7 separate regions of the Homo sapiens genome follow, and all the other regions are linked to region 1. The links are contacts of gene promoters, found by promoter capture Hi-C in blood cells and fetal thymus (Javierre and others, 2016). All regions are on one chromosome and are shown on one strand. The core of a region is centred on a gene start or on the middle of the fragment in contact, and the rest is flanking DNA. Distances in the headings are between cores, read along the strand shown. Region 1 holds the start of MIPEP (mitochondrial intermediate peptidase). Region 2 overlaps SACS (sacsin molecular chaperone). Region 3 overlaps SACS (sacsin molecular chaperone). Region 4 has its middle 17 kb from the start of SACS. Region 5 has its middle 2.4 kb from the start of LINC00327. Region 6 has its middle 22 kb from the start of LINC00327. Region 7 overlaps SPATA13 (spermatogenesis associated 13).

Region 1 (4,187 bases), core at 747-3,246:
CTTTTACAGATCAGGCCACATGCTTTAAGACGTTAGAAAAAACTTGTTTGAGGTCACAAATTAATATTGGGAAAGACAGAACTCGAACCCGCTCTGTACATCTGTAAAGCCCACACTTTTCCATACTTCTCTATTACAATTTATCTGTTTGAAAGTCTTCTCTCCTGAAAAGGTGAGCTTCCAGACCCAAGAGCCCTGCCCTTCATTTCTTTAACCAGCTATCCAATAGAATGTCTAACACATGGGGGAACTCAATGAAAGAAACAAGTGACCGGAGCAGATGCTAGGCTTTGTTAATTCACTTTGTAGGTGCTTAACGCATAGATTTTCAGAAATACGAACAGGTAAACCTTCAGGCCTGACAAGCCCTACTGTTTCTACAAGAAGGGATGGATGAAGTTAAGCTAGTAATCTCTCTTCAAAATATATTACAAGATAAAAAATAAAATAAAAGAAAGTCAGTGGGAGACAAAGGAAAATCAGGACCAAAAACAAATGTCATCTTTATACTGATTTAATTTGATTCAAGCACAGACTACTTCCACTTCCCAGTACAACCTGCCCATATTGCTCTCGGGAATTCTAACTATCGGATTACCAGTGACCATAATGCTAAAAAACTGAATAAGGCTTTTTTTTTTTCAAGGCAAAAATCAATTCTAAAATTTGAAAATCTGCTATCAGTGCCGAATATCATGATACAAAAAGGGAAAAATAAAAGCTAAAATTAGTTATATCTCATCCACCCAAAATCAGGCTTCCCCTCACGTCTTTCTGCTCAGCGCCTACAAGTAGGTCTCTTCACACCAACTATGTTAATACCAACACTACATACCCTTAAGGAAGGTGGTGTAGCAAATTTCACACAAAATAATTTTTAAATAGACAAAACTGATAATGGAGATAAAACAAGAATCACACACTTTAGCTCAGTGCAACAATACCCTAGACTTGTCTTTATAAGGCAATACAGTATAACGAAATTTTAAAAGGCAAAAATAAAAGTAATCCTTAACCTAAAACGGACAAAATGTACAAACTCCAAGTAGAACAGGCATCAGGTAAGTCCTTTCCAACCTTGCCTTCCTCTCACCTTTCACTAGACAACGCAGGCTAGTGACTTCCTGGGGTAAGAAATCAAAGTGACCAATTCCATGGCACTATGGGAAGTGAGACTCGTCTCAACAGAGTTTTGTGTTTTAAAACAAGAAAGCCCAAAGCTTTGAAATAAATTAATTAATAGATGATGGAATTTCAGGTATTAATGAAATTACCATTACTCGACTGCAGGCAGCCGTGTCCTTGCAAAAAGACCATGTGATGCCGCCTGTGAACGCACAGGGATAGGCCTCTTAAGGCAGGACTGTAGCGCTGGAGCTAAAGGGCTTTAGCAGGGGTGCGCCTGAGTGTATGCAGAGGGCGGGTCCTGGCAGGACGAATTCACCGCCACTGCCAGAACGAACTATTCAGATTCACGTGGAGCAAGGGGCTCATGCAGAAGCAGTTCCCGGACCCGACACTCTGGGTAGGAGACCACTAAACCCGGCCCCTCAAAGCAGAGGTGACCTTGCCCTCATCGAGAGCGCACACAAGACGCCACTGTAAAAGGTGGGTTCGCTGCTCGCCTCCTCCCAGGCCCAAACAATCTCGCCCTGATTGTTGCTGGCCGCGCGGAGCAGGGGTCGGCTTAGCTCGGGGACTGAGGGGAGCTCCTCCTGCGCCGCTCACCCGGCGCTCGCCGAACAGGTCCAAGCGGCTGCCCTGGGGCTTGACATTGAAGGCGGCGCCCACGGGAGACCAGCTGGTGCTGACCCTTCGGGCCCGGATCCCGGCTTCGAGGCTTCCCCGGCCCGCCCGGCGGGGCGGCAGAGCTGCTGCTCTGGCTCCCAAGCCGCCCAGCCTTCCGACGCACAGCATTCTAGCACCAGAGCAGTCCCTTCCTCCAACGCAGATCCCTGCCCTGCTGCTTTCGCTGGGAGCGCGCGCTCCGCGTTTCCAAGGCAGCAGCCCACGCCGCCCCACGTGACGGCCCCGCTTCCGGGTCTGGGCGCGGCCTCAGGACGTGGGCACGTTGTCGTCCAGAGAGCAAGAGCGTCGCTCCCCCTCGCCTTCTCGGCCGCCCTCCCGGTTTACCGCCCCCTGTGTCCAGAGTAAGAAAAGGCTAGGGTTGCGCTTCCCTCCCAAGTTGACTAGGGGTGGGCGCGAGTAAAATCATGACATATTCGAATTCCAGTGGACATTAGATATTCTTTGAGAGACGGCAGGTACTTGAGTAAACAAGAAATGCCCACCATAGGCCTGAAGGAGAAGTTTCCCTTTTAACCTACTCTCTTGGTAAATTTATCCTGCACTTCTCTGTTTGGTGTCTCTGTCCGGTAACTTTTTACTCTTGCATAGCTCAGTTAAAAATTTTAGATGGGAAATAGTGAAAGAAGTCTAATGGGATTTTCCCTCCAGGGTTTCAGAATTGCCTGGGACCCGTGAACCCTTTTTTCCTTCCCCTTTCTCTCTTTTGGAATGGATTGTCTACCCTATGCCTGTCTCCCCCTCCAACCCCCGGTCTTTTAGAAGTGGATTAACTCGTCTCGCTTCACAGGATCACAGATGGAGAGACATTTTGCCACACGATGAATCACACAGTAAGTCTCCTCTGTAGCTTATTTAAATGATGTAGATGGTGAGAGGAGTTGATGCGGAAAGTGTTAAGACTTTTGGTAATGTTGACATGGTGCGAAAATGTATTTTGCACATGAGAAGGAAATCAATTTTGGGAACCAGAGGGCAGATTGGGTTGAACTGTGTCTCCCAAAATAGATGCTGAAGTCCTAACCCTCGGTGCCTGTACATGTGACCTTATTTGAAAATATGGAGTTTGCAATTATGATTAAGATGGGTCATACTAGATTAGGGAAGCTGTTCTTGTAAGAAGAGGAAAATTTGGCTGATACAGGAGGAGGACAGCCACCTGAAGATGGAGGCGGGGACTGGAGTGATGCTGCCACCAGCTGCCAGAAGCTGGAAGCAGCAAGGCTGCATCCTCCTGTATCCCCTTTGGAGGGAGGATGGCCCTGCTGCTACGGTGATCTCAAACTTCCAGCCTACAGAACTGTGAGAAAGTCCGTTTCTGTTGTTTAAAGACTCCCAGTTTGTGTACTTTATTAGGGCGATCCTAGAAAACAAGTAGAGATTCATGTCTGGCAAATAATGATCAAACAATGATTTGTTGGATAGAATGGTGATTAAAACCTAGGTTAGAAAATGAGCAAAATGGGAGGGAAAGCACCAGGACAAATAGCTAATGCATGCAGGGCTTAATACCTGCATAGGTGATGGGTTGACAGATGCAGCAAACCACCACAGCACATTTTTATGTAACAAACCTGCACGTTCTGCATATGTATTCCAGAACTTAAAAATACATTTTTTAAAAAAAGACAAAATGAGCAGTGTCTACAGCTTTCTGGAGTGTGACAGCATCACCAGCTTAAAGCTGTTACTAGTACTAAATGGAATAAACATTTCCCTCTAATTTCCCCTTAATGTCCTCAGAAACACAGATGAGGGATACATCTTCATATGACTCCTCAGAGCACTAAAATGATATCAAAACACTCTTCCCACAAGAAATGCACAGACAAAGGATTCTTCAGATAATAGGAATAAGAAATGTGAAATAAATTAGAATAAACCATGCAGCTATTTTAAATATTTACTCCTGGAAAAATAGTAAGTTACATAGAATCAGTTTTGGGAATAACTTTTCCGTTTTCACCTTTTTATGATTATTGTAATAATTGGAGGAATTAATAAAGTAAAACCATCTGAATAAGTTCATCCCAAGCTGATTCTGATGGATGGTCTGGCAGATTTATAAACTCTCCTCTGTCACTGGCTGCTGAACAGAAGGAACCCTGTGAAAGTTGTGTCATCGTCCTCATCAGCAAACAAGCCATTGAACCTCTCTCCTCCTGTCACCTGCAGCCACATCTCATCCCCGAGCTTCAGCTGCAGGACAATGCTGCCAGAGGCCTGGTCCTCAGAGCTCACGTAAGCATCTCTGGTGTGCAGTATTTTTACTCCGTTTTTGACCAAAGACACCTGAACATTCCTGGAGAAAACAGTGATGTGGTAGGTGAAGTAATAGACCCCAGCAATGTGGCACGTGAATTTCCCCACTGCTGTATCAT
Region 2 (4,187 bases), core at 1,066-3,565, 500 kb before region 1:
AAACGATATTCATCGCCTTGTACTTCTCCATCAGAGCTCTTGGGCGACCAGGTGCAATGTCAATAAGCAGTAATATTTTGAAAGGAATCTTTCTTTCTGAACAGTTGGTCTCAACAGTGGGCTTAAAATATTCCGTAAACCATGCTGTAAATGGATGTGCTGTCGGCCAGGCTTTGTTGTTCCATTTATAGAGCACATGCAGAGTAGATATAGCATAATGCTTAAGCGCCCTAGGATCCTTGGAATGGTAAATGAACTTGGCTTCAACTTAGTCACCAGCTGCATTAGCCCCTAACAAGAGTCAACTTGTCCTTTGAAGCTAGGCATTTATTTTTCCTCTATAGCTATGAAAGTCCTAGATGGCATCTTCTTCCACCAGAAGACTGTTTCATCTACATTGAAAATCTGTTGCTTAGTGTAGTCACCTTCATCAGTTATGTTAGCTACATCTTCTGGAGAACTTGCTGAAGTTTCCCCATCAGCACATGCTGCTTCACCTTGCACTTTTATGTTATAAAGATGGCTTTATTCCTTAAACCTCATGAACCAACCTCTGGTAGCTTCAAATTCTTCTGCAGCTTCCTCACCTTTCTCAGCTTTCACAGATTTGGAGAGAGTTAGACCTTTGTTTGGGTTAGGCTTTGGCTTAAGGGGATGTTATGGCTGGTTTGATCTTCTATCCAGACCACTCAAATTGATTCCTAATCAGTAATAAGGCTGTTTTGCTTTCTTATAGTTTCTGTATTCACTGGAATAGCACTATTTAATTTCCTTCAAAAACACTTCCTTTGCATTCACAACTTGACTGTTTGTCACAAGAGGCCTGGCTTTCCTGTCTTGGCTTTCAACCTGCCTTCCTCACTAAGCTTAGTCATTTCTAGCTTTTGATTTCAGGTGAGAGACTTGCAACTCTTCCTTTCACTTGAAGAGTTAGAGGCCATTATAGGGTTACTAGTTGGCCTAATTTCAATACTGTTGTGTCTTAGGGAAAAGAGAGGCTGGAGGAGAGGGAGAGAGGCAAGAACAGCCTGTTGGTAGAGCAGTGAGAGAACATACCGTTTATCGATTAAGTTTACTGTCTTATTTGGGCACAGTTCGTGGCACCCCAAAACAATTACAATAGTGACACCATAGATTAGTAATCACAGATCACCAAAGCAGATATAATAACAATGAAAATGTTTAAAATATTATGAGAATTTCCAAAATGCGACACAGAGACACGCTAACGGAGCACTTGCTGTTGGGAAAATGGTGCCAACAGACTTGCTGGATGCAGGACTGCTGCAAACCTTCGATTTGTTAAAAACGAATGTCGGCCGGGCGCGGTGGCTCACGCCTGTAATCCCAGCACTTTGGGAGGCCGAGGAAGGCAGATCACGAGGTCAGGAGATCAAGACCATCCTGGCTAACACAGTGAAACCCAGTCTCTACTAAAAAACACAAAAAAAATTAGCCGGGCATGGCGGCGGGCAACTGTAGTCCCAGCTACTCAGGAGGCTGAAGCAGGAGAATGGCGTGAACCCGGGAGGCGGAGCTTGCAGTGAGCAGAGATCGTGCCACTGCACTCCAGCCTGGGCGACAGAGCAAGACTCCGTCTCAGAAAAAAAAAAAAAAAAAAAAAAAGTCTGTGAATGAAATAAGGTATTCCTGGACTTGCCATTCTAAGGGCTTCACTTTCACTACGAAGCTGGAAGACCCTGTAGAGATAAGCTGGTCCCCTGGTCACCCTGACCGTTTCTTTTTGGTCCTCATAGACGGCTGGTTTTTAAACCATTTATCTGGGAAGTTGCCATTCACCTGTGTAGGGTGGTGGTTTGAGTTCAGGTGATGCAGCTTCTGTGATATCAGGAGTTTACCCAATGGACAGCATGGTGCAGAGAATTCAGTTCCTTAGCAGGAACTTGCAACTTAATCTGTCCCTTAAACTTTTTTATTACAACATGATCTATGGATCCAGAGAATATGGCGGTGAGGTACTATTAAGTAATAATGTGTGTAATCATCAGAGAAATGCATATTAAAACCACAATGAGACACCACTGTACCCCAGCCAGAAAGGCCATTATTAAAATGTCAAAAAACAATAGATGTTGGCATGTATGCGGTGAAAAGGAACACTTACACACTGCTGATGGGAATGTAAATTAGTACAACCTCTACGGAAAACAGTATGGAGATTCTTTAAAGAACTAAAAGTAGATCTGCCATTCAATCCAGCAATCCTGCTACGGGGTATCCACCCAAAAGAAGAGACGTCATTATATCAAAAAGACACCTGCACACATATGTTTATCACAGCACAATTCACAATTGCAAAGATATGGGCCGGGAGCGGTGGCTCACACCTGTAATCCCAGCACTTTGGGAGGCTGAGGCAGGAGAATGTCGTGAACCGGGCAGGCGGAGTTTGCAGTGAGCCGAGATTGCGCCACTGCACTCCAGCGTGGGTGACAGAGCGAGACTTTGTCTCAAAAAAAAAAAAAAAAGAAAAAACAAAAGATATGGAACCAATCGAAGTCCCCATCAACCAATGAGTGGATTTAAAAAATGGTGTGTGTGTATATATATATATATGGTACATATAATATAAAATATATATAAAATATAAAAATATGGTGTGTGTGTATATATATATATATATATATACACACACATACCACAGGCTACTACTCAGCCATTAAAAAAACAAACAAATAAAATAATGTCTTTTGCAGCAAATTTGGATGGAACTGGAGGTCATTAATTCAAAGCGAAGTAACTCAGGAGTGGAAAACCAAATATAGCATGTTCTCACTTATAAGTAGGAGCTAAGCCATGGGTACACAAAAGCATACAGAGTGGTACAGTGGACACTGGAGACTCAGAAGCAGGGAGGGTGGGAGGGGGTTGAGGGATAAAAAACTACATATTGGGTATAACGTGCGCTACTCAGGTGATGAGTGCACTAAAATTTCAGACTTCACCACTACACAGTTTATCCAAGTAACCAAAAACCACTTGTATCCCTAAAACTATTAAAAATAAATAAATAAATTTAATATAGTATTTCAGGGTGATAAAATACCAAAGAATCAGAAACCAAAAGAAAGTATCATTTGCAAATACCAAATTTTAATCCATGTATTCAAAAAATACATAACATGAGTTTTCTATGGACAAGGCATGGAGCTGAATGTCTTACATTCTTTATATATTTATTAATAAGATTTTAAATGGAAACTTGTATGTGTCAATTACCAAAGACACACCCATCTGTTAATTACTCCTTAGTACCCTCTACCATTTAGCTAAAACATATATGTGTGTGTATATATATATGTGTGTATGTGTGTGTGTGTATATAGCCTGTGTATATATATAGCCTGTGTCTTTAAGTTACAGGAAGGCTTTAAATAGTTACTGTGCTCCTGAAATGATGTGAAAGGTTACAGCTTTATTAAGTTGCCCAATACTTATTAATGCAATTTTAGAGTTGGTTTTATAACTAGGAACTGAATGTCTACTAATCAGCATGACTACAAAATAAAATTCAGAATTGTAAAAAAATATATATATATTAGTAACATGTGGATATAAAGATGATTTATTTCTGCCCACTGACCAGGGTCACTGGAAAAGGCAAACACTTAGAAAGTCGTCTTTACATCCACGTTACTAATTTTACTTAATATGGTATCTGCAAAGTACATGTGCTCTACTTGCCAAACTTCAACCTCCGAATTTAGAAAGATCTTATTCTGTGTCTCAGCTGAAAGTCTGAGCTAAGCTTTCTCTAATTTAAAAAAAGGACGGAATACGTGTACAAGGGATACGTAGTACATGATTCTCTTTGAAGGACACATTTGCTTCCATCCTCTATGCAGATAAAAGAACAAATTACAATGTCTAAAATCTGTTCTTTTTGTATTCTGCATTTAGCCATCATTTTCTTCTACTGTGAGAAGGATCAGTTCTACTCTTTCTGCTTTTTGCTTCTTTTTGCAGGGAGTTGGGGGATGGACAAGGGAGCATTTTAATTTTACATCAAAATGTCAAGTTATTTGGCTGCATCTACATATGCCAGAAGTCACAATAATATGCGACCACTTTTATGCAGCTTTTCTGATATTTATATTTCCTACAATTATGGAGTTTTATATTTTCTACAAATTTTCAATGGATTTGGTTTTTTTTCTATTCACTCT
Region 3 (4,187 bases), core at 512-3,011, 470 kb before region 1:
GATCTGGGGCAGGTGCAGGACTTGGGGCCCCAGAGAGTGCCACAATCGACTGCCCGTGGGAGTGGGCTGGTGCCTGGGAGCAAGAGCGCGGCCGTCCGGCGCCTGTGTGAGCCGACAGGGCAGCTCCGCCAGGGAACCAGGGGCCCGTCCCTCTGGGGTCATGGGCGGACAGGCACGGGAGCTGAGAGAGGGGACCGGGCCTAGGCCACAGGCCCTCCAAGGAAGCCACAGAGCCAGCTAGTGGCACCCAGGGACTGCGGGAAGCTTCGGCAAGGTAAGCTCTGGCAGGGTAAGCTCGGGACCAACATGGGTTTTAGTGTCTTTTCCTAGTGGTGGGGAATTTCTACAAGGTGGGTAGGACGTGTTAAGGGTGGCCTTAGCAATTTGTAGGCCTAGAGGCCGTCTAGGAGAGGCCTGCAGTTCAGAGTCTCAACAGGGCTTGATGGGGCCTGCCATTTCATTTCGCAATGTGGTTCCTAATGTTTCTTGGGAAACCGGGCGTGTTATGTCTCCATGTCACCCTTTACTTCTTGGATTTCTTGGTGTGCGTGGTTGCCTTTTTCTCTTTTCTTATATTGCAATTTCGGGTCCCACATTTTCTTCCATTCGAATCTGTGCGTCTTCTATGCAAAGCCTGTGGTGGGTCTTGCTCTCGGACTAGTTGAGCAGCATTGCACTCGTGTTGGTTGTGGGAGTTTCATCGTTTCTGTGTGTGTTCAGCATTCTGTTGCGAGTTCCTTATCTTCAGAATGATTGAGAAATGTAGTTTTCAGTTTTAAAGAATATATATTCTTTGGGGAGGTGATTTTATTGCATTTGGCCAGAGAATATGTGACCATTCGGTCACTGAGGACTGGTGTGTACCCCTAGGGACGCAGTATCCACCTGGAGACTGGGTGTCCCCATGGAACCTGATGTCACTCTGGGCCTAGCTGCCCACATGGGTCCTTGGTGTCCACCTGGAGCCTGATGTTCCCCAGGGACCTAGGTATCCATTTGGGTCCTGATGTTCATCTGGGACCTGGTGTTCACCTAGGGCCCGATAGTCACCGGGGGACTGGGTATGTACCTGGGGCCTCATGTCCACCTGTGGTGTGGGTATCCACGTTGGGCCTGTGTGTCAATCTGGTGCCCCATGTCCACCTATGGATTAGATACCCAACTGGGGCCTGCTCTTCATCTTGGACTTGGTGTTTACCTGGAACCTGATGTCCAGATGGGGCATAGATTATCTATGTGGGGACTGGTGTCTAGATGGGGTCTGACAGTCAACTGGGGCCTGGCCTGGTATTTTCCTGAGGTGTGACTGTGAACCTGGGGACTAAAGTCTACCTAGAATCCAGTGTCTACCTTGGGCCTAATGTCCACCGGTGGCCCAATGTAAATCTGGGCACTAAAGTCTACCTAGAATCCAGTGTCTACCTTGGGCCTAATGTCCACCTGTGGCCCAATGTAAATCTGGGGACTAAAGTCTACCTAGAATCCAGTGTGTACCTTGGGCCTAATGTCCACCTGTGGCCCAATGTAAATCTGGGGCCTGGTATTTAGCTAGGGCCTGGGTATTCACCCAGGGCTTGATTTCAGCTGGGCCCTGAAGTTCTCCTAGTGCCTAGTGTCCACCTGAGGCCTTGGTGTCAGTCGGGAACTGGATGTCCACCTGGGGCTTGAGTGTTTCCCGGTGCCTGAGGACTTCCTGGGCCTGGATGTTCACATGGGACCTAGATTGAACCTGAGGCCTGATGTTCATCAGGAGCCCAGGTATCCACCTGGGGAGTGGTGTCCACCCAAGACATTTGGAGTCAAGTGTCCACTTGAGGCCTCATGTCCACCTGGGGCCGGATTGTCCATCAGGGACCTGTTTTTGACCAGGGACCTGGGTATTTACCTGGGGCCTCAGTGCCCACTTGGGGCCTGACATCCACTTGGGTGTTGGTGTCCACCAGGAGCCTAATGTCCACCAGAGTCCTGGGTATCCTCCTGGCACCTGGTGTCTGCCTGGGGCCTGGTGTCCACCTAAAGTGTGGGTATCCACCTAGGACCTGGTGTGCACCTAGGGCCTTTGTCCACCTTGGGCCTGTTGTTCCTCTGGGGCCTTGTGTCCGCCTGGGCCCTGGGTGTGAGCGTGGTACCTGATATCCACCTGTGGCTTCCATAGCCACCTGAGGCCTGGTGGTCATTTGAAACCTGGTGTTCTCCAGGGGCCTGATGTCAACCTGAGGTGTAGATATCCACCTGGGTCCTGGATGTCCAGCTGGGGCCAGATGTCCAGCTCTGGTCTAGGTATACCCCTGGGGCTTGATATTCACCAGGGGTTTAGGCATTTACTTGGCACCTAGTTTCCCTGTGGAGTGTGCCGTCCCATGAGGATTGACATTCAGCTGGGGACTGGGTATCTACCAGGGACCTGGGTATCCACCTCAAGCCTATTGTACTCCTGGAACCTGAGTATTTACCTGGGGTCTGATATGCACCCAGGCCTGTTGCCTACATAGTGTCTTATGTTCCCCTTGAGCCTGAACGTCCGTCTGAGTCCTCGGTATCCTCTGTGGGATGGCTGTCCACCTGTGACATTGTGTCCTGCTGTGGCACGGATGTGAGCCTGGTGCCTGATATACATCTTAAGTCCAGTGTCCACCTGGGGCCTGATGTTGACCTGGGGACTGATGTCCACATGGGAACTGGGCATCCACCTGCGGCCTGATGTCCACTGGGAACTGGATGTTGCCCTGGGGTCAGGGTATCTACCTGGAGCGTGGTGTTCACCAGGGGCCTAGGCATCCACCTGGGGCCTGTAGTCTACCTGGGGCTTCCTGTCCACTGTGGCCCTGGTATTTACCTGGGGCCTGGACATCCACTTGAGGCCTGAAGTTTAAGTGGGGCCTGGTGTTCAACGGGGGCCCATGTGTCAACTTGGGAACAGACATGCACCGAGATGCCTGATATCCATCTGGGGCCTGGTTTCCACCTGGGGCCTAGTATTTACCTACGGCCTGGGCGTCCACCTATGGTGTATTATCTAAGTATCTAAGTAACAACGTTTGAGAGGTTATTAGGCCTATATATGAACATGCTACTAACTAGAAAAAAGTTATGTGCAAAGGAGCTTTGTGATGTACCTTATTATATTGTTGAATGGAACGTAACTTTTCATTAAACAAGTTCCTAACACATTTTATAGAATCTAACAAATGAGATTTCAGAGGCCTATATATAAACATGAAAATTCAGCCCAATAACTAAAAACAAGCCATGTGAGAAGAAGCTTTGTGATGTGCTTTATTATATCACTGAATGTAACCTGTGTTTTTATTAAAGAAGTTCCAAACACACATTTTATCGTTTTATACAACCTAAGGAATGACATTTCAGAGGCTGTTAGGCCCACATGTGAATATACAAATATTCATCCTTAATAACTAAAAACAATCTGTGCATGAAGAAGCTTTGTTATGTGGTATTTCAGATCACTGAATGAATGGAACCTGTGTTTTTATTAAACAAGTTCCAAACACACGTTTTATAAAACCTAAGGAATGACATTCCAGAGGCTATTAGGTCTTATGTGAATATTTGAATATCCATCTCTAATAACTAAAACAGTCTGTGTGCAAAGATGCTTTGTGATGTGGTGTTTCTTTTTTTTTTTTTTGAGACGGAGTCTCACTCTGTCGCCCAGGCTGGAGTGCAGTGGCACGATCTCGGCTCACTGCAAGCTCTGCCTCCTGGGTTCACGCCATTCTCCTGCCTCAGCCTTTGGTGTTTCATATAACTGAAAGAAACCTGTGTTTCTGTTAAACACATACTAGAAACATGTTTTGTAGAATCTAACCAATGACATTTCAGACATTGTTAGGCCTATATATGAACATATGAATATCCAGACCTATTAACTGGAAAAAAGCTATGTGCGAAGAACATTTGTGATGTGCTTTATTATATCACTGAATGAAATGTGAGTTTCCATTAAACAAGTTGTAAAAACACGTTTTGTAGAACCTATTTAATGAGATTTCAGAGGCAATCAGGCCTATATATAAACATATGAAAATCCAGCCTTAATAACTAAAAACAAGCTATGTGAGCAGAAGCTTTGTGATTTGCTGTTTTATATCAATGAATGGAACCTGTGTTTTTATTAAACAACTTCCAAGCAGACGTTCTTTAGAACCCAGGGAATGACATTTCAG
Region 4 (4,187 bases), core at 689-3,188, 440 kb before region 1:
CTTCTTCAAGGGCTGCTTTTTAGGGCCTTTCACCTGTTTGAATCGGGCCCACCCAGATTATCTAGGATCATCTCCCTTACTTAACGTCAACTGCTCTTGGACTTTAATCATATCTACACAGTATCTTCACAGCAGCCCCTAGATTACTGTGGGATTGAATAACTGGATGGTAGACTCACCAAATTGAATGTCAGAAAACTACTGCACTCTTCCTCAGCTCTTAACTCCAGAGGGGCTCTTTAATGCAGCCATGCCAGAAGTCTATGCCTTCTTCTTTCTTTTTTTTTTTTTTTTTTTTTGAGACGGAGTCTCACTCTGTTGCCCAGACTGGAGTGCAGTGGCGTGATCTCCACTCACTGCAACCTCCACCTCCCGGGTTCACGCCATTCTCCTGCCTCAGCCTCCCGAGTAGCTGGGACTACAGGCGCCCTCCACCACACCTGGCTATTTTTTTTTTTTTTTTGTATTTTTAGTAGAGACAAGGTTTCACCCTGTTAGCCAGGATGGTCTCGATCTCCTGACCTCGTGGTCTGCCCACCTTGGCCTCCCAAAGTGCTGGGATTACAGGTGTGAGCCACCGCGTCCGGCCAAGTTCTGTCCTACTCAGAAGTTACTGTTCCTGCCAAAAGCTTTGACCATAACCTTGTAACTCAGTGTCCCCATAGGAGCACAAGACTTAGAATCCAATACGGACTTGGTTATGAGGAGAGAGAGTACATCCAGAAAAACCCTGCAAAGCTGTGGATTAACAAGGGAATGTAGAAATAATCCTCTAAGGCCGGGTGCAGTGGCTCATGCCTGTAATCCCAGCACTTTGGGAGGCCGAGGCGAGTGGATCGCTTGAGGTCAGGAGATTGAGACCATCCTGGCCAACATGGCAAAACCCCATCTCTACTAAAAATACAAAAATTAGCCAGGCGCAGTGGTGGGTGCCTGTAATCCCAGCTACTCAGGAGGCTGAGGCGGGAGAATTGCTTGAATCCGGTGGAGGTTACAGTGAGCTGAGATCGTGCCATTGCACTCCAGCCTGGGCGACAGAGCGAGACTCCATCTCAAAAAAAAAAAAAAAAGAAAAAAGAAAGAATCCTCAGATTCTCTTCATCTGCCCACTCACTGCAGTCAGTTTTTCAACTAAAGAATGAAAAGATTCTTTTGCATCCCTTTCCTCTTCTCCCAGGAAGGATGGCTTTGTGTAACTGACAACTGAGGTCCATGGACAACAATGTACTTGTTTTGCAAGTCTAAAAACAAAGAGTTGTTCCCCAGGGGGAAGGGGGCAAACTGAATCACTCTACCAGAGTTTTCTGTGTAAAATTTAAACAAAAGGTTGCAAGTTGGCAGCAATTAGCATGGAGGCAAGAGCAAACACACAAAAGAAGGTTGGGAAGAAAGATGGGGAGAGCCGGAGAGGAAATGGCATCACCAAATGGCCAAATTGTGTCGTTTGAACAGTCAAACTAAAGCCAACCACTGCTGGCCCCTGGACCTACACTTCTGTAAGAGGAACACTGAGATTTCACTGGGGGAAAGCCAATTTTCATAGTTTTTCTATTAAGAATAAGAAATGTGGCCGGTCAGACAAAAGCAATACCTGCTGCAATGTCTGTCCTGCCTCCCTCAGCGGACTGCTATATGAATTAAATGTGGTAATGGACACCTATAAGCAAGTTTCTAAAAGAAGGAGTTTTAAGGTAGTGGCCAGCACAGTGCCTTGCACAGGAAAGCTGTATGGGAAACGTATGCTTAATTGTACTTAATTATTAATACACCACAACATGCATTAAGCAAATGGTTTATTGAGGAATTTTTGTCTTTTCCTCACATAAGAGCAAATAAATATTTGAAATATTTGGTTTTTTATTCATGAAAACTGATACATTTGATTTTTTTTCATAAAAACACTATTGTTTGAAAATTCACCGTTTTCATTTAAATATGTATTTCCACTTACGGAAAGATTTTAAACAATGAGTTAAGCAAGTTATAGCTATATTTGTAGCACTATGCTAGTCCATCAAACTTGAAAAATGCAGAAGTTACTTTGAACAATTAACTTGCTGGCTCACTTTGCTTAAACAAGGAGGAAACTGTGGATCTATAAAACTGGAAAAAATTATGTTATGCCCCAAGTGAACTTTTCAAGGTCATCAAAGACCATCTCTCTGCTTCAGGGCAGCGTAAATTGAAACCACCCATGAGAGATGAGTGTCAGCCTCGCCTGTCATGCCACCTGCTCCTCATTAATCAGAAATGACATCTGGAGGCAAACGTGCCCTCTCAAATTCTGGAAGGCATTCTGGTGCATGATGACAGCATTTTTCCTTTGATCACGAAAGAGAATTGTACTTATTCAAGTTTTGCAAGAGCGGATTATGACTTCATGTGAACTATGGAAAACTGCCTCCTATTCTCTTTTATACCATTAAATAAGCCTTACTTGTTTGTAAAGAATTGTTTGCCATAATAACTGAACTATTACACTTTATCACTTTTAGAAAGATTAACATTAATCTGGAGGCAGCTGTCACAGTGATTAAGCAGAGAGACAATTCCTTGATTGAATGCCCAGCTTCATCCCTTAGCTGGGTGACCTTGTGCAAATTAACTACACTCTCTGTGTCAGGATTCTCTCATCTGTCAAGGGGAGTGTATTAATCGTGTTTTTTGTTATTTTCTGTATTTTATAATGCTTTGACACGTTGGGGGCCTTGCTGGCCAGGGAGAGACCGCCCCTCCCATGGCTAATTCCTAGAGAAAGCTAACAACTTGCCCCTGTGCATGCCTTTCATATGCAAACCAATTAATCCAAAGTCCATGTCTCCAACCACCTCCTTTATCACATTTGCACACACCAAGCCAGTATTTCTTCTATCCTAAATCACCCCAGGACCAGGCCCCAGACACCTAGAGACCTCCCCCACAGCCCCAAGCACCCAGAAATCATTCAAAGCATGCAATCCCAAATGTGCTCCAACTTGCCTCCCCTGCCTCACCTATTCCTTCCCACAAAAACTTCAAGGGCTCTGGGCATGTTTTCTTCTTCCCTCCTGCTGAACCCTAGCACTTCCCGGGTGGCCCTGCACAGCTTGGCAACTGTCAGTCATGAAACCCCTTTCAATGGCATTGGCCTCTCGTATGGATCACTCAGTCCCCTTCATAAATTAAATTCTGGGTGCAGGTGAAATGGGGATGTATTGATGGTTCCCACCTCCCGGTCTGGGATGAGGATAAAGCAGTTTCATGCCTATGAAGCTTGCAGAACAGCCCCACGTGGCTCCCCTCCAGGGTCTAGAATAAGCCCTCTCTGCACTGCACTGGCCTAGGCCCTTCTCATCTGTCACCTGACAGCCTCCCTGACTCCCTATTTTGCCAGTTCTGTCCTCCTTAGAATACTCATTTTCCTTCTTTCTGATTTGCACACTCCTCCCTCCCAAGAGTCTGTCACTGGTTGACCATGACCAAGACCATCGATTTCTCCCAGAGGTCCTGAGCCTCGCCCATGCACCCATCTCCTCCTTGCTGTGCACTCACACCTGACCAATGTTGATTTGTTGGAAAGTGCATAGCCAGCTGACAGTAGCATTATCTTTAAATGCAAGCAAGACATTCTTTTTTTTTTTTTTTTTTTCAGACAGAGTTTCACTCTTACTGCCCAGGGTGGAATGCAACAGCGTGATCTCTGCTCACTGCAACCTCCACCTCCTGGGTTCAAGCAATTCTCCTGCCTCAGCCTTCTGAGTCGCTGGGATTACAGGCGCCTGCCAACACGCCCAGCTAATTTTTGTTATTTTTAGTAGAGATGGGGTTTTGCCATGTTGGCCAGGTCTCGAACTCTTGACCTCAGGTGATCCACGCACCTCGGCTTCCCAAAGTGCTAGGATTACAGGAATAAGCCACCACACCAGGCCTTTTTTTTTTTTTTTTTTTTAGTGGAGACAGGGTCTTGCTCTGTGGCCCAGGCTGGAGGGCAGTGGTGCCATCTGGGCTCACTGCAACCTCCACCTTCTGGGTTCAAGTGATTTTCCTGCCTCAGCCTCCCAAGTAACTGGGACTACAGTCGTGTGCCACCACACCCAGCTAATTTTTGTATTTTTTAGTAGAGATAGGGTTTCACTGTGTTGGCCAGGCTGGTCTTGAACTCCTGACCTCAAATGGTCCACCCACCTTGGCCTCTGAAAATGCTGGGA
Region 5 (4,187 bases), core at 834-3,333, 420 kb before region 1:
TGATGGTTTTATAAATGGGAGTTTGCCTGCACAAGCTCTGTCTTGCCTGCCTGCCTTGCCTGCCTGCCGCCATGTAAGATGTGACTTTGCTCCTCCTTTGCCTTCTGCCATGATTGTGAGGCCTCCTCAGCCATGTGGAACTGTGAGTCAATTAAACCTCTTTCCTTTATAAATTACCCAATCTCCCATATGTCTGTATCAGCAGTGTGAGAACACACTAATACACCATAGAACCATTCTGAGCATTTACTGAGCACTTACTATTAGAGCTTCTCACTTTTAGTACAGTATTTAATACATTACGTGGGATATTTTGTACTTTATTGGAAAATAAGCCTTATGTTAGGTGATTTTGCCCAACTGTAGGCTACTGTGAGTGTTCTGAGCACGTTTAAGGTAGGCTGGGCTAAGCTGTGATGTTCAGTAGGTTAGGGGCATGGAATGCATTGTCAACTTTCTGTGGGTTTATCTGGACCTAACCCCATCATAAGTCAAGGAGCATCTGTAGAATGGTGGTTTTTCAGGAGCTAGGGGAAGGGGAATGGGAAAATGTTGTTTAATGACTGTGGAGTTTCAGTTTTACAAGATGAAAAGTGTTCTGGAGTGTGGCTGCACAATGGTGTGGATGTTCTTAACACTGCTGAAGAGGACACATACAAATGATTAAGATGGTAAATGTTTTTATGTGTATTTTTACCCCAAATACTTTTCAAAAAATATCTTGGCTATTATTTATCTCCTTATATATATGTCTTTTTTTGTTTGCTAGCATATAAATCTCTCGGAGGCAGAAAACATGTCTGAAATCTACAGCATGTAGATTTCATACAGGGCACAGTGGTTGACCAGTAATGAGTTCCTGCAGGAGGGGACCCTTCCAGTGAATGTAGACCTGGAAAATGAGATTGTCCTATTTATTCCTCTGAATATTCCCCAGCATCTATCACAGTGCTCTTTATAAAGTAAGTGCTCGGTAAACGTTCATTCGTGGTGATGCTAAGGACCGGAAGGGTCTTTAACCTTTTCTCTCCCTCCTAGCTCAGCCCTCACGGAACCCTAAAAGCTGGCTAAGGGGCCATTCTCCTCGCCACCTGGGCCTGCGTCTGCCGAATCGCTTCCTAAGGACTTTGACTAGAAACCAAAGGTCCCATTTTTCATCTGCCATTTATTTATCATTGCATAACTTAGGTAAGTCCCTCCGCCTTCACTGTCAGTTCTTCACTCATTGTTTTGCATCCAAGGAGTCTGGAAATAAGCGGGAACACCCTGCACGTGAGAGGGGCCCTGAAATTCACGAGGGGCTGGGGCTTTGCGTTTATTCCTCCAGTTCCGCCTGCAGCAACCCTGACGATCGAGCAGGGCCCGCGGGGGAGCGAGCGGAAGCGGGCAGCGTGCGCTGCTGTCCCGCTACCCAGCCCGCTAGGCTGCGCAGCTGCGTCTGCGGGCGGGGAGCCGGGGCGGCCGTGGGCTTCCTCCGGGCGCGGGCTGACGGCTGCCGCCTGTGGGCGCCCCAGCCCTGCAGCCGAGCGGGAGGGGCGGACCAGCGGGTGTCGGGAGCAGGCTGCAGCGGCCAGGCCTCTGCGGCTTCTCGGAGTACTGGGTCCACTGGAGAGCGAAGAGCCGCGGCCGCCAGGATTCCCAGCAGCGGCCGCGTGTTGAGAGCCTAGAAGTGGCCCCGAAGCCGTGCCTTTCCCGATAGCCAAGCAGAAGTAGGACTTGAAGCACCGAGGCTGGGATGCCCATGCTGGTGACGCCTTGGGGCTCGCAGTTATACTTGGTGACCGGTCTACACGGCGATTCGGTGCTTTCCGGAGTAGCAGATTCATCTATCTTTAGACCCACCTTCGTCCTTCGGCGGTTTAGCACGGCCTGCGCTTTCCTGCGAGCCCTGCTGTCACCCGAACAGCCTGATGACTTCACGCTCAACCACTGGAGGGCACAACCACATCATTTTTAAAAAATAGATTCCTCCACTTAAAGGACATGGTTTTGGGGGAAAGAACATTTAAAAAATGTAAAAAGATATATATCTATATCTATATATCTATCTCAGATTGTTCTGATATAAACTCAGGTGGGATTCTTCAAAACAGGAGGCTGTTCCAGTCTCTTCATTTTGCAGCTGAGAAAACGAAGGCCTTGGAGCTTGAGAACTCCAGTTGCCCAAGGCACACAGGTGGTGGGTAAGGAAGCTGATCATGTCTCCAAAGAATCCTTCCATGACCCAGGAGGATCCGGTGGGAGAGCAGGGCCGTCCACAGCTCAGCTAGGACACAAGAAGGCCCGGGGTGGCAGGAGCCCCACTGTGTGCTGCGGAGGATGGCAGAGGAAGTCAGCATTGTCCCGAAACTGCAGGATCATGTGATGTGATGGGAAAAAATTATGAGTACAAGACACAGGAAGAGCAGGTCACGGAAACACATGGTGCCCAGAAGGGCTTAATTAGTAGCAGCTGTGCGGGGTGATGCACAGAGTGCCCCAAGGGTGTCCTGAGTGAGGGTGGATGTCCCCTGCCCTCTGGCTTCGTGAAGGCTTCGTGAAGCCTGCCGGGTCACCCTTGTTTTCATGGATAGCTTCTTTAGGACACTCTCTCCACCAGTAATTGACAAAGTCTGCTTCTGTTGAGTGTCTGATAAAGGATTGAGTTTACATGATTGTTAAGATAGGATCATGAAAGAAGACAGAAGACGGATGTGAGTGGCCCTCAGAAAAAAAGCATCAAAGGAAACTGAGGAGTCTGTGTTCCGAGTTATAACATCAGTCCTGTGTGTAAGTGCTGAGTTTCAGCTCTGCCCAAGGCTAGGGGTTGCCTAGTCGGCTTCAACTGTAAGCTCCTAAGGGACAGTGCTGCCCCTTGAGATGACTGGGCAGCCATCAGCTTCATGCTAGAGGCTTTAAAGCAAACCCAAGATGGAGTCTCAGTACTGATTATTTGGGCCAGTGCCTTTCTTAACATTTCACGGATATATTCCTTTATTTTATTTGTTGTATTTTAGTACAGTTTTGCTCTATTCAGTCATGGTCATTCTTAGTTGCTGTTGTCTTTGTAAACTTATTTAATATCTTTTAAATATTAAAAGATTAAATAAATTATTTTCTAATAAATTCTTTTAATATTAAAATATTAATTTTTGATAAGAACCTTGTTTACTCTCAAGATTAATGTAGTAAATAAAGAAGACTAAAAACTTCAGAGACTGAAAGCTGCTGAGAATGTGTAAGAGAAACCTGGTTGTCAAACGCAATCCTGATCTTTTATCAGGCATCTGTATCAATGTGGATGATCTAACCGTGGTTAACTTCATGAAGAAGGAAGATATTTGATTTTCATCTGTTTAAAGAAACAATCTGTTTCTTCTAAAAGTATATACTCTAAAACACAAACCACTTGGCTGGGAAATAAAAGATGGTTATGCTTTATCATTTATATAAGCCTGGCCTTTCTCCAAAATGATTTTGATATAGCTTACAACAAAAAACGTGTTAGGCTTAATAAAAGAAGAATGGAAATGGAAACTAAGGATCAACAGAAAAGAGTATCACAAATACGGTAATACTAGCATATGGTAATATTATTTCTGTATTTGAGTGTAAAACGTGGCTGTGAGCTTCCTGGAGGCCAAGGCAAAAATAGAGACAAGAGCAACGTGCATAATATCATTAGCAGACAGAAAGATCATGTGACTTTTTAATTTTTTTCCCGGAAACTGAATCTAAAAAGAATCGCTCTATATAATGACTCATATATATGGTTTTAAGTGAAAAAATGATGAACACTGTCCTCCATGAGAGTTTTGGCACAAATTGAAGGAGGTAAGAACTGATATTGAAGCACAACTCAGTGAAGTTAATCCTGTCAGGCTAGGTTCACACAAGAAAACTTCTGACAAAATCCTAGAATTCCGGCAAATGCAGGCATGGAATGAGAGATTCCTATTCCATCTGCCTCGTTGTGCCTGGGGCCAGGCCTGAGTGTTGAAGACAGCTTGTTCCAATGTAAGATCAAATGAGATTGTTCATAACAGGAGTCTGCAGGAATATGGCACCTCTGATTTGAAATGATGGATGATTTTCATCAGCCGTGTATCTGCTTCCTTGGCAGCACCCCAAGTGCAGACCCCAGGCTGTTTCAGTGTGTCATCTGGCAGGCCCAAACAGAGGATGTCTCAATTGTGCATGTGTAACAC
Region 6 (4,187 bases), core at 496-2,995, 400 kb before region 1:
CCTTTCCGTCAATTCCATTCAACCAAATATTTCCCATTTTAACGTGAAATCAGACCTCTCATGGGTTGGTCTGTTGTTGGAGTGACCACACTCACTTACTCCACTTGCTCCGAGGTTCCTCTCATTACCTGAACATGCACACGGGGCCCAGCAGGCACTGAGGAAAAGGTTGAGTGGCACTTGTCATCTGCATGCCTCCCAGGTGGGTCCTGCTCAGGGAGGAGTGTCCAATAACCTTGGTGACAGCCACAGCCTGGCAAGATTCATGCCGCAGACAACACGGTGCCCGAATCCCTTCCTTATAATTCCCCAGGCATGGGGTTAGTAGACAAAGCCAGTGAAGCTGATAAGAGAAGCAACATGTAAAAGGGGAGGGCACCACGTTGTCCCCTAAGACAAGAATGGAAATGGTTTAATGAGTTTGTTACTTACTATCTACATGATGTTAAAACCAATCCAGGCAGGGCAAAATAGGTCAGAGCCTTTTCACAAAGCCAGTACTTTGTGTAGTGAGATTTTAAAGACATTACCCTGTCAGTGAGAGAGAGAGAGCTACAGTTAGACAAACATGATAAGACAAAGAGCTAAATATAAAATAAAAAATGCAGATGTGAAATCATATTTGCAAGTCTTTCTTTTGCTGTCAGTAGTTGGTAATTGGTTGTAGCCACCCAGATGCGAGTCAGATACATACAACCGTAAGTACCACTTAAAATTTCAGTGGCTAAAGAATCTTGCCAGAAAGAATTTTTTAGTCAAAATTCCTAAACATTTCTCATTGTGCCAAAACGTACATATTTGCTTATAATATATCAAAATAAAAATGAGAATTTCCTTCATTTCTGGTGTTGTGAAAAGTTCCTGATAGATATCTCATGGAGACCAGGTTCCAAGAGCATTTCCTGTGGCCTTACTGCAGACAGCAGATCATTTCAGCCTCCACTCAGGCGAATGCTTAGTGGCTGGGAGTGTGCACGCTCTGGTTCAAGTGCAGTGAGGGTGGGGTACTAGACTCACCACTTCCTAGCTGTGGGGTGTTACTCCAGGCCTTTAAACTTTTATCAGAAACTCAAGCCTTCAAGCTTTCATCTCTTCCATCTCTGCACCTCACAGGACTACCATGAGCTTAAATGAGAGCACACATAAAATATGGTAAGAAACGGGTATGATTATTTTTCCTATTTTATAATTGAAGGCACTGAGGCCAAGAGAAGTGAAGTGGCTCCAAGTCACAAAGCCTTGGGTCACAAAGCTGGGATCTGAAGGCAGACTGTCAATAGTAAGGTTGTTATACACAGTAAATGAGTTAATTCATGGAAAGCTCTTAGGAAAGCCTTGGTTATGAGAAAGCTCTCAATAGAGATTAGCTGTTTTATTATGACTTCATTCGCTTTCACGCTATTTAAGCCTTTTCCTTTATTTCACTTCAAAAATGAGGGCTTGGTGGGGCTGGGCGCAGCGGCTCATGCCCGTAATCCCAGCACTTTGGGAGGCCGAGGCGGGTGGATCATGAGGTCAGGAGATTGAGACCCTCCTGGCTAACATGGTGAAACCCAGTCTCTACTAAAAATACAAAAAATTAGCCGGGCATGGTGGCAGGCACCTGTAGTCCCAGCTACTCGGGAGGCTGAGGCAAGAGAATGGCGTGAACCTGGGAGGTGGATCTTGCAGTGAGTTGAACTTGCGCCACTGCACTCCAGCCTGGGCGACAGAGCGAGACTCCGTCTCAAAAAAAAAAAATGAAGTCTTGGTATATGTGTTCACATAGTCTCTAAGGCTGTACATTTTGAACTTGTTCCATTTCTCTGACCTTGTAACCCAGGCTTTTGGGAAAGCTGTATTCTCCAGCGGATGTGAAATAGAGATGGCAGTAACAGTAACGTAGATATAAAAATAACTCTTCCAAGTGGATCAAGTCACTGGTGAAGGAATGCATGTAAATCCTTGCAAGCCTCTTGGGCAGTCTGGTTGCTCACTAAATGTTTTTATTTAATGAAACTTGATGGTGATTTTTAAATCTCATCCTTTTAGGGTTATGTACCCCATAATAAAGGAGAAATGATGTATGGACTTTTTTTTTTTTAACAAAAGAATGAAAGCCCGATTTATAAAGTAAACATTGATGGCAAGGTTTACATAAATGGAGCAATCTCTCCTACATAAAAGGAGAGATTGCGGTGGAATTAGGTATGAGGGATGGAGAATCTCTTTCCTCTGTTCACCATGGCAGATACAACTTGTGCTGTTCCCGGCTGTTTTTTGAGGTGCCATAAGGATCAAAACAGCAATCTGTCAGTAAGTTGGTAAGTTCCATGGGGCCAACCTAAGTTTGATCCCAGCTTCCACGGTCACTAAGCCCAGGACTGTGGGCAAGTTTCCTCATCTGTGATATGGGGATAATGACAGCACCAAGCTTTTAAGTCTGTGTGGGGATTAAGTGAGATAAATGCAAGAGAGTGTGAGAAAAGGGCCTAGGATGAAGCATGCATTCTACCTATTGACTATTAGTAGTATCCATCCTCCTTATTAAAGCACACTAACAACAAAGCTATTACATGAAGACACATAAAAGCAAACTTGAAAGAGATGGCAGGAACTTCAATACTCCAGTGGCAGGAGGCAGCCTCTGTGCTCACACTGACTGCCAGGTGCCCGTGAAATAGCTACTTCCAAGAGCTGGTAATAGAGTTGAAGCGAAACTCCAGCTCCAGTACCTCCATTTCCTTAGAACTAAAATGTGGAACGTGGCTGGGTACGACAACTCCGGCCTGTAATCCCAGCACTTTATGTGGCCAAGGTGGGAAAATTGTTTGAGGCCAGGAGTCTGGGATCAGCCTGGGCAACATAGCAAGACCCCCATCTCTATTAAAAAAAAATCTTAAAAAAATTAGCCATGCATCGTGGTACACGTCTGTAGTCATAGCTACTCAGGAGGCTGAGGTGGGAGGAGGCTGAGGTGGGAGGATTGCTTGAGCTCAAGAGGTGGAGGCTGTAGTGAGCTAAGATTGCGCCACTGCATTCCAACCTGGGTGACAGAGTGAGACCCTCTTTCAAAATAGATAAATAAATAAAATGTGGAGCATACAGCTATAAACTTTCTAAAACTGAGCGTGTTACATTAAAATGGGAATTATACTTTTGAAACTACTTTTAAAAATGCTTGTATTCTTAGAAAAAGACCATTTTAATGCAGTTCAGATGAAATATCAGAAACTTTTCATGAAGAAACCATCAGAATTAAAGAATGGTATTTGATTATGATATGATTGCCTAATAATTATTGTTTGCTTGGGTTTTTTTTTTTTTTTCCAGAATCCTATTTCTTTTCTTTTCTTTTTCTTTTTTTTTTTCTTTGAGACAGAGTTTTGCTCTTGTTGCCCAGGCTGGAGCGCAATGGCATGATCTCGGCTCACCACAACCTCCACCTCCTGGGTTCGAGCGATTCTTCTGCCTCAGCCTCCCGAGTAGCTGGGATTACAGGCATGCGCCACCATGCCCCGCTAAATGTTGTATTTTTAGTAGAGATGGGGTTTCTCCATGTTGGTCAGGCTGGTCTCGAACTCCTGAGGTCAGGTGATCCGCCCCCCTTGGCCTCCCAAAGTGCTGGGATTACAGGCGTGAGCCACCGCGCCCAGCCTCAGAATCCTGTTTCTATTTAACATCGTCCTTCAACCGGCTCTGAAATTGAATTATGGGAGAAAGCCAGTTACGAAGGCACAGAACCAGACCGTGGTGTTGTGCTGGGTCTGTTCATGAGCACAGACATTCTTCCCCTCTTTTTAGGCTGAGCACATGATGCCTCTCTCGGCTTCAAAGCAAGCCCTGGAATATGACTTTCAGCATCTGCTCCTCCCACAGACAATTCCCCTATGCCCTCCCAACTCTTATCCCACCTTCCCTCAACTGCCTGGCTCACTTTTTATCCTCATTTAACTTTCCAGAGGGAATTCTTTGCATAATCAGTCTCTTGACGTATTTTACTAAAGTCACAAACTGACTTGTTTGTGAAAGTCTCGTAGAAAATGGGGTGGTGGGGGAGTCCAAGAAAACATTGTGGTGAATTGCATGGGAAAATCTGTCAACTCACTCATACTAAGGTAAGTAGAAGAAAATTTTCTTAATAATATTTGTCCAGCTAGGAAACACTTTTTCACTTGTCTTTGGTCACCAGCTTATGTTCTTCATGA
Region 7 (4,187 bases), core at 677-3,176, 340 kb after region 1:
AAAAAAGCATAAGAGTTAAGTTCCTGCATAATCCAACATTTATATTTTCATGAAACCATGTCCCCAACCAAATTTGTTGAACACATGTCAGATACAAGAGACCAGTTAGGTATGACTCTATAGGGAATGTGGTGATGCCAATGAAGTTGTACCTGTGCCCAGATACACTTAAAACATAGGAGAACTTGATGGATTCAATTCCATAAAAGTGGTAAAAGCAAAATGCTATGGGTTTCAGAGGACTTGCAGTTCTCACCCATGTACCAAATCAAGGAAGGCTTCATAAGGGTGACTGAATCTGATTTGAAGAAGGAGGATTTCTACAGATGGTTATGGAGAGGACAGGGGCATTTCAGTGAGGTGTAGAGTAGGTTGGGCATGTGTGCAGAGATATTCTGTGATTGGAGAGAACAGGAAGTAATGTAATTTGGTTTGATATAGAGGAATAATCCAAGTTAAGATGGAATCATTAAGCAGAAGTCAAACAGTGCATAAGGAATTGTCATGTACCTCACCACTCAACACCTGCTATGTGAACAGAAGGGGTTGAAACAAAAAGAAGCTGTCTGTACTCTCATGGGTTCAGAGCCTAGCTGGTGAGAGGAATGTGTGCAGGTCATTATGATGTAGTGGTAAGGGCTCCTCATGAGAATGCAGTAAGTGCCGCAGGAGCCCCAAAGGCGGCAGAATGAAGAACTCTGGCTGGAAAGTGGCAGAATTGGGGAGGGACAGTGGAGTGGGGTCTTTAGTGCCCCGGGCGGCGGTTGCAGAAGGGCACTGGACTTCCAGGCTGGCGGGAAGAGTGTAGAACAGGAGGCAGATGCCCACATCTGAGCTCAGCTCTGCTGCTTACCAGTTCTCGACCTTTGCTAAACCTCATTTTCCTTGCCTGTAAACTGTGGGTGATAAGTGTCCCGACCACATAGGATCGTTGTGCAGATTAGCTGAGGTGATGTGTGGACTTAACATGGGGCTTTGTATATAAGTTTCTAGCAAAGTGATGCATCTATTGTGCTCAGGGAGCTGCAGACGGCTTGCAGAACTTCTGTACAGGGTGGCTGGGTGGAGAGGAGGGAGATCAGGTTAAGCAGTTAGGTCTGGACATCATTAGGAAGGGCCTCGCTTACAGCTGTGAATTTGGACTTTACTCTGTAAGTGGTGGAAAGTCAGTGACATTGTCAGGGCAGGGACTCAGAGGGACATTCCGTGGCTGGGGTTGATCAGACCAGCTCTGTAGAGAGGTCTAATTTGCATAACATCAACTCACCGGTTGTAGGTATGCAGTTTGATGATTTTTGGGAAATGTAGTGTGTGCAGCCACTACCACCGTCCAGCTAAAGAACACTTGGCTCCCCCCAGAAGGCTTCCCCACGCCTTTTACCAATCCCTGTTCCCACCCAAGACTAGGCCACAGCTGATGGGCTTTGTGTCTACACCTTTTATTAAGCGAACAATTCAGTGATTTTTATATGTTTATGGAGCTCTGCAGCCATCACCACAGACTAATTTTAGCACGTTTTCACCACCCCAGAAAGAAGCCTCGCGCCATTTGCAGTCACTTTCTGTTCCTAGCCCCAGCCTCAGAGCTATTTTTTGTGTCTATTATTTTACTTTTCTGGACATTTCATAGAAATGGAATCCTGTAATACGTGGTCTTTTGTGACTGGCTTCTTTCACTGAGCAAAACCTTGTTTTCAAGGTTTGTCCATAGAGCATGATCAGTGCTTCCTTCCTTGTTAAGGCTGCGTAATATTTCAGTGCATGGCTATCTATACCGCACTTTGTTATCTGTTCATCTGTTGATGGAGATGGGTTGTTTCTGCCTTTTTGCTATTATGAGTAATGCTGCTATGAATACTTACATACAAGTCCTTGGGTGGAAATATGCTTCCTTTCTCTTGGGTGGATACCTAGGGGTGGAATTGCTAGGTCTTGTGACATTTCTATGTTTAATTATTCGAGGAGCTGCCAAGCTGCTTTCCAAAATGGCTGTACCATTTTAGATTCTCACCAGCATTGTATAAGGGTTCCAATTTCTCCTCATCCTTGCCAGGACTTGGTATTGTCAGTATTCTGGACTCTAGCTATTCCAGCGGGTGTAGAGTGGTATTTCATTTTGGCTTTAATTAGTATTTCCCTAATGACTAATGATGTTGAACGTCGTTTCATGTGGTTATTAGCCATTCAAGTGATCTGATTTAGTGAAGTGCCGATTCAGATCTTTTGCTCATCATTTCATTGCATTCTTTGTCATCCTTTTATTGAGCAGTTAAGGTTTCTTTATATTTCCTGGCCACCTGTCCTTTATCAGATAATATGATTATTCAGGGTTCTCCAGAGGACGAGAACCAATAGGATACATATGAAAATCGGCTGGTGTGATTAAGGCCAAGTACCAAGATCTGCCATCTGCAGCCTGGAGAACCAGGAAGCCAGATGTGTAGTTCAGCGTGAGCCTGGAAGCCTGAGGACAAGGTGATGGGGTGGAGTGCTGGTGTAAGTCATGGAGTCCGAAGGCCCAAGAACCAGGAGCTTCAGTGTTCCTGGGCAGGAGAAGGTGGATGTCTGCCAGGAGAGGAGGGGAATCCTGGACTTTTGTCCTATTTGACACCTCAAGGGATTGCAGATGCCTGCCCACATCCTTGAGGGCAAGTCTTCTTTACTTTACTGATTACTGATTCCAATGCCAGTCTTTTCTGGAAACACCCTCACAAACGCACCCAGAAATAATGCTTTATCAGCCTTCTGGGGATTCTTTCACCCAATCAAGTTGACACATCAAATTAATAGGAATTACAAATATTTTCTCACAGTCTGGCTTGTCTTTTAAATTTTTTAATATTTTTCTTTTTTGAGACAGGGTCTCACTCTCTTGCCCAGGCTGGAGTACAATGGTGCAATCACAGCTTACTGCAGCCTCAACCTCCCAAGGTCAAGCAATCCTCCTGCCTCAGCACCACCCCCACCCAGTAGCTGGGACTACAGACACACAGCACCACACCTGGTTACTTTTTGTATTTTTTGTAGAGGTGGGGTTTTGCCATGCTCCCCAGGCTGGTCTCGAGCTCCTGAGCTCAAGTGGTCTGCCTGCCTCGGCCTCCCGGAGTGCTGAGATTACAGGCATGAGCCACCACTCTCAGCCCAGTTTTATAATATTTTTTAAAGAGTCAAAATTCTTAGTTTTGATGAAAATACAGTTACCAAATTTTTGTAGTTTTCTGTAGATCTGAGAACTCTAAGATTACAAAGATTTTCTTCTGTGTTATTTTCTGGAAGTTTTATCATTTTAGCTCTTACATTTAGGTATATGCCCCATGTTTAGTTGTTTTTGTGTGTAATATGAAGGTTCATTTTTTAATATATGAACATCTGTTTATCCAGCCTCCATTTATTCAGCCGCCTATGGTTTTTGTACTGCAGAGAATGTAAGTTTCCATATTCCTCTGGGTTCTCATTCATTTTTTTTCTGACAAAAACATTACAGAATTTGAATCACAAAAATTAGAGTTAGAAAGATAATTTTTAAATATAATATTATGTGTGCTTTCAAAAAATGTTTTTCTAATGAATTGAACATGTTGTTGCAGGGACATTTGCCCTGATATGACAGTTAGTGTTTTATGATATTTCCTAAATAGTATGCTTGGGGTAGACATGCAACAGATATCTTCTCTTACAGAGGGCTTTTTAATGTGATCTGAAGAGAATTAATGTGCCTTCTATGAGTCATCTTTGTGCTAGTTTATGTTCAGTTTCTCCTAGAATGTTTTTAGCTTGTTTTTGTTTCTTTTCCTTTTGCTGGAGAAAAATGTGAAAAAGGATCTATTCCAGAAATACTAAATCATAGAAATTCACATCATGAGTCTAAATGTGAAAGTAGCTTTTTACTTTAACAATGGAATCATTTTCTAAGTCAGTTTAAAAAAAAAAGTTTCCATTTGCTCTGAAAAGGTTTATGCTCATTATTACCTAATTCTTTTTCAACGGAAAGTTTCAAAGTATTTCTGAAAGGGTGCTCAACATTTGAGTCAGGCATTTCAGTACAGACTAGTTAAACCGGCAAATTATGTACTTGTGAAGTTCTAGCCAGAGTGAGGACCCCCTGGGATGCAAGCCAAAGCTGCGGAATCCCGAGTCTCCTCCAGCACTGCTGACAGGCTACAGAACTTTATACACTTAAACACACA

What was found. Contacts are between HindIII fragments. The CHiCAGO score rates a contact against its expected background, and 5 or more counts as called.
Region 2: a fragment that was not itself captured here is called in contact with the fragment with the promoter of MIPEP in region 1 in 5 of 17 cell types (fetal thymus, naive CD8 T cells, non-activated CD4 T cells and 2 more); the score reaches 9.7 in fetal thymus.
Region 3: a contact is called between a fragment that was not itself captured here and the fragment with the promoter of MIPEP in region 1, in 9 of 17 cell types (endothelial precursors, M1 macrophages, fetal thymus and 6 more). The highest score is 6.9, in endothelial precursors.
Region 4: a contact is called between a fragment that was not itself captured here and the fragment with the promoter of MIPEP in region 1, in 9 of 17 cell types (M2 macrophages, erythroblasts, non-activated CD4 T cells and 6 more). The highest score is 8.5, in M2 macrophages.
Region 5: a fragment that was not itself captured here is called in contact with the fragment with the promoter of MIPEP in region 1 in 16 of 17 cell types (total CD4 T cells, naive CD4 T cells, fetal thymus and 13 more); the score reaches 19.6 in total CD4 T cells.
Region 6: a contact is called between a fragment that was not itself captured here and the fragment with the promoter of MIPEP in region 1, in 6 of 17 cell types (M2 macrophages, total B cells, erythroblasts and 3 more). The highest score is 7.7, in M2 macrophages.
Region 7: a contact is called between a fragment that was not itself captured here and the fragment with the promoter of MIPEP in region 1, in 2 of 17 cell types (fetal thymus and naive CD4 T cells). The highest score is 5.9, in fetal thymus.

The regions. Positions count from the first base shown.
Region 1 is chr13:23,887,404-23,891,590 of GRCh38, forward strand. MIPEP (mitochondrial intermediate peptidase) reads right to left here and starts at 1,997. Exons shown (of 19, transcript NM_005932.4): 1 at 1,729-1,997. The coding sequence starts at 1,917. It overlaps PCOTH (prostate and testis expressed opposite C1QTNF9B and MIPEP), which reads left to right and starts at 1,465. Exons shown (of 4, transcript NR_172510.1): 1 at 1,465-1,608; 2 at 2,597-2,639; 3 at 3,982-4,128. It overlaps C1QTNF9B (C1q and TNF related 9B), which reads right to left. Exons shown (of 5, transcript NM_001007537.3): 5 at 3,696-4,187. The coding sequence ends at 3,886. RefSeq lists enhancers at 1,777-2,277, 2,337-2,396. The HindIII fragment of the contact is 13,692 bases long and covers 1,219-4,187 here.
Region 2 is chr13:23,385,861-23,390,047 of GRCh38, forward strand. The region is part of intron 2 of SACS (sacsin molecular chaperone); the gene reads right to left. Among named protein-coding and RNA genes, the nearest start is that of SACS-AS1, 31 kb to the right of the region's middle. The HindIII fragment of the contact is 2,903 bases long and covers 865-3,767 here.
Region 3 is chr13:23,419,028-23,423,214 of GRCh38, forward strand. All of the region lies in intron 1 of SACS (sacsin molecular chaperone), which reads right to left. SACS-AS1 (SACS antisense RNA 1) reads left to right here. Exons shown (of 2, transcript NR_103450.1): 1 at 1-274. Among named protein-coding and RNA genes, the nearest start is that of SACS-AS1, 2.2 kb to the left of the region's middle. The HindIII fragment of the contact is 2,998 bases long and covers 263-3,260 here.
Region 4 is chr13:23,448,290-23,452,476 of GRCh38, forward strand. No RefSeq gene overlaps it. Among named protein-coding and RNA genes, the nearest start is that of SACS, 17 kb to the left of the region's middle. RefSeq lists an enhancer at 337-1,176. The HindIII fragment of the contact is 2,623 bases long and covers 628-3,250 here.
Region 5 is chr13:23,464,981-23,469,167 of GRCh38, forward strand. No RefSeq gene overlaps it. Among named protein-coding and RNA genes, the nearest start is that of LINC00327, 2.4 kb to the right of the region's middle. RefSeq lists a silencer at 1,313-1,592 and an enhancer at 1,703-1,862. The HindIII fragment of the contact is 5,622 bases long and covers 1-4,187 here.
Region 6 is chr13:23,489,437-23,493,623 of GRCh38, forward strand. No RefSeq gene overlaps it. Among named protein-coding and RNA genes, the nearest start is that of LINC00327, 22 kb to the left of the region's middle. RefSeq lists an enhancer at 3,057-3,557. The HindIII fragment of the contact is 1,331 bases long and covers 1,081-2,411 here.
Region 7 is chr13:24,229,707-24,233,893 of GRCh38, forward strand. The region is part of intron 2 of SPATA13 (spermatogenesis associated 13); the gene reads left to right. Among named protein-coding and RNA genes, the nearest start is that of SPATA13-AS1, 23 kb to the right of the region's middle. The HindIII fragment of the contact is 5,136 bases long and covers 1-4,187 here.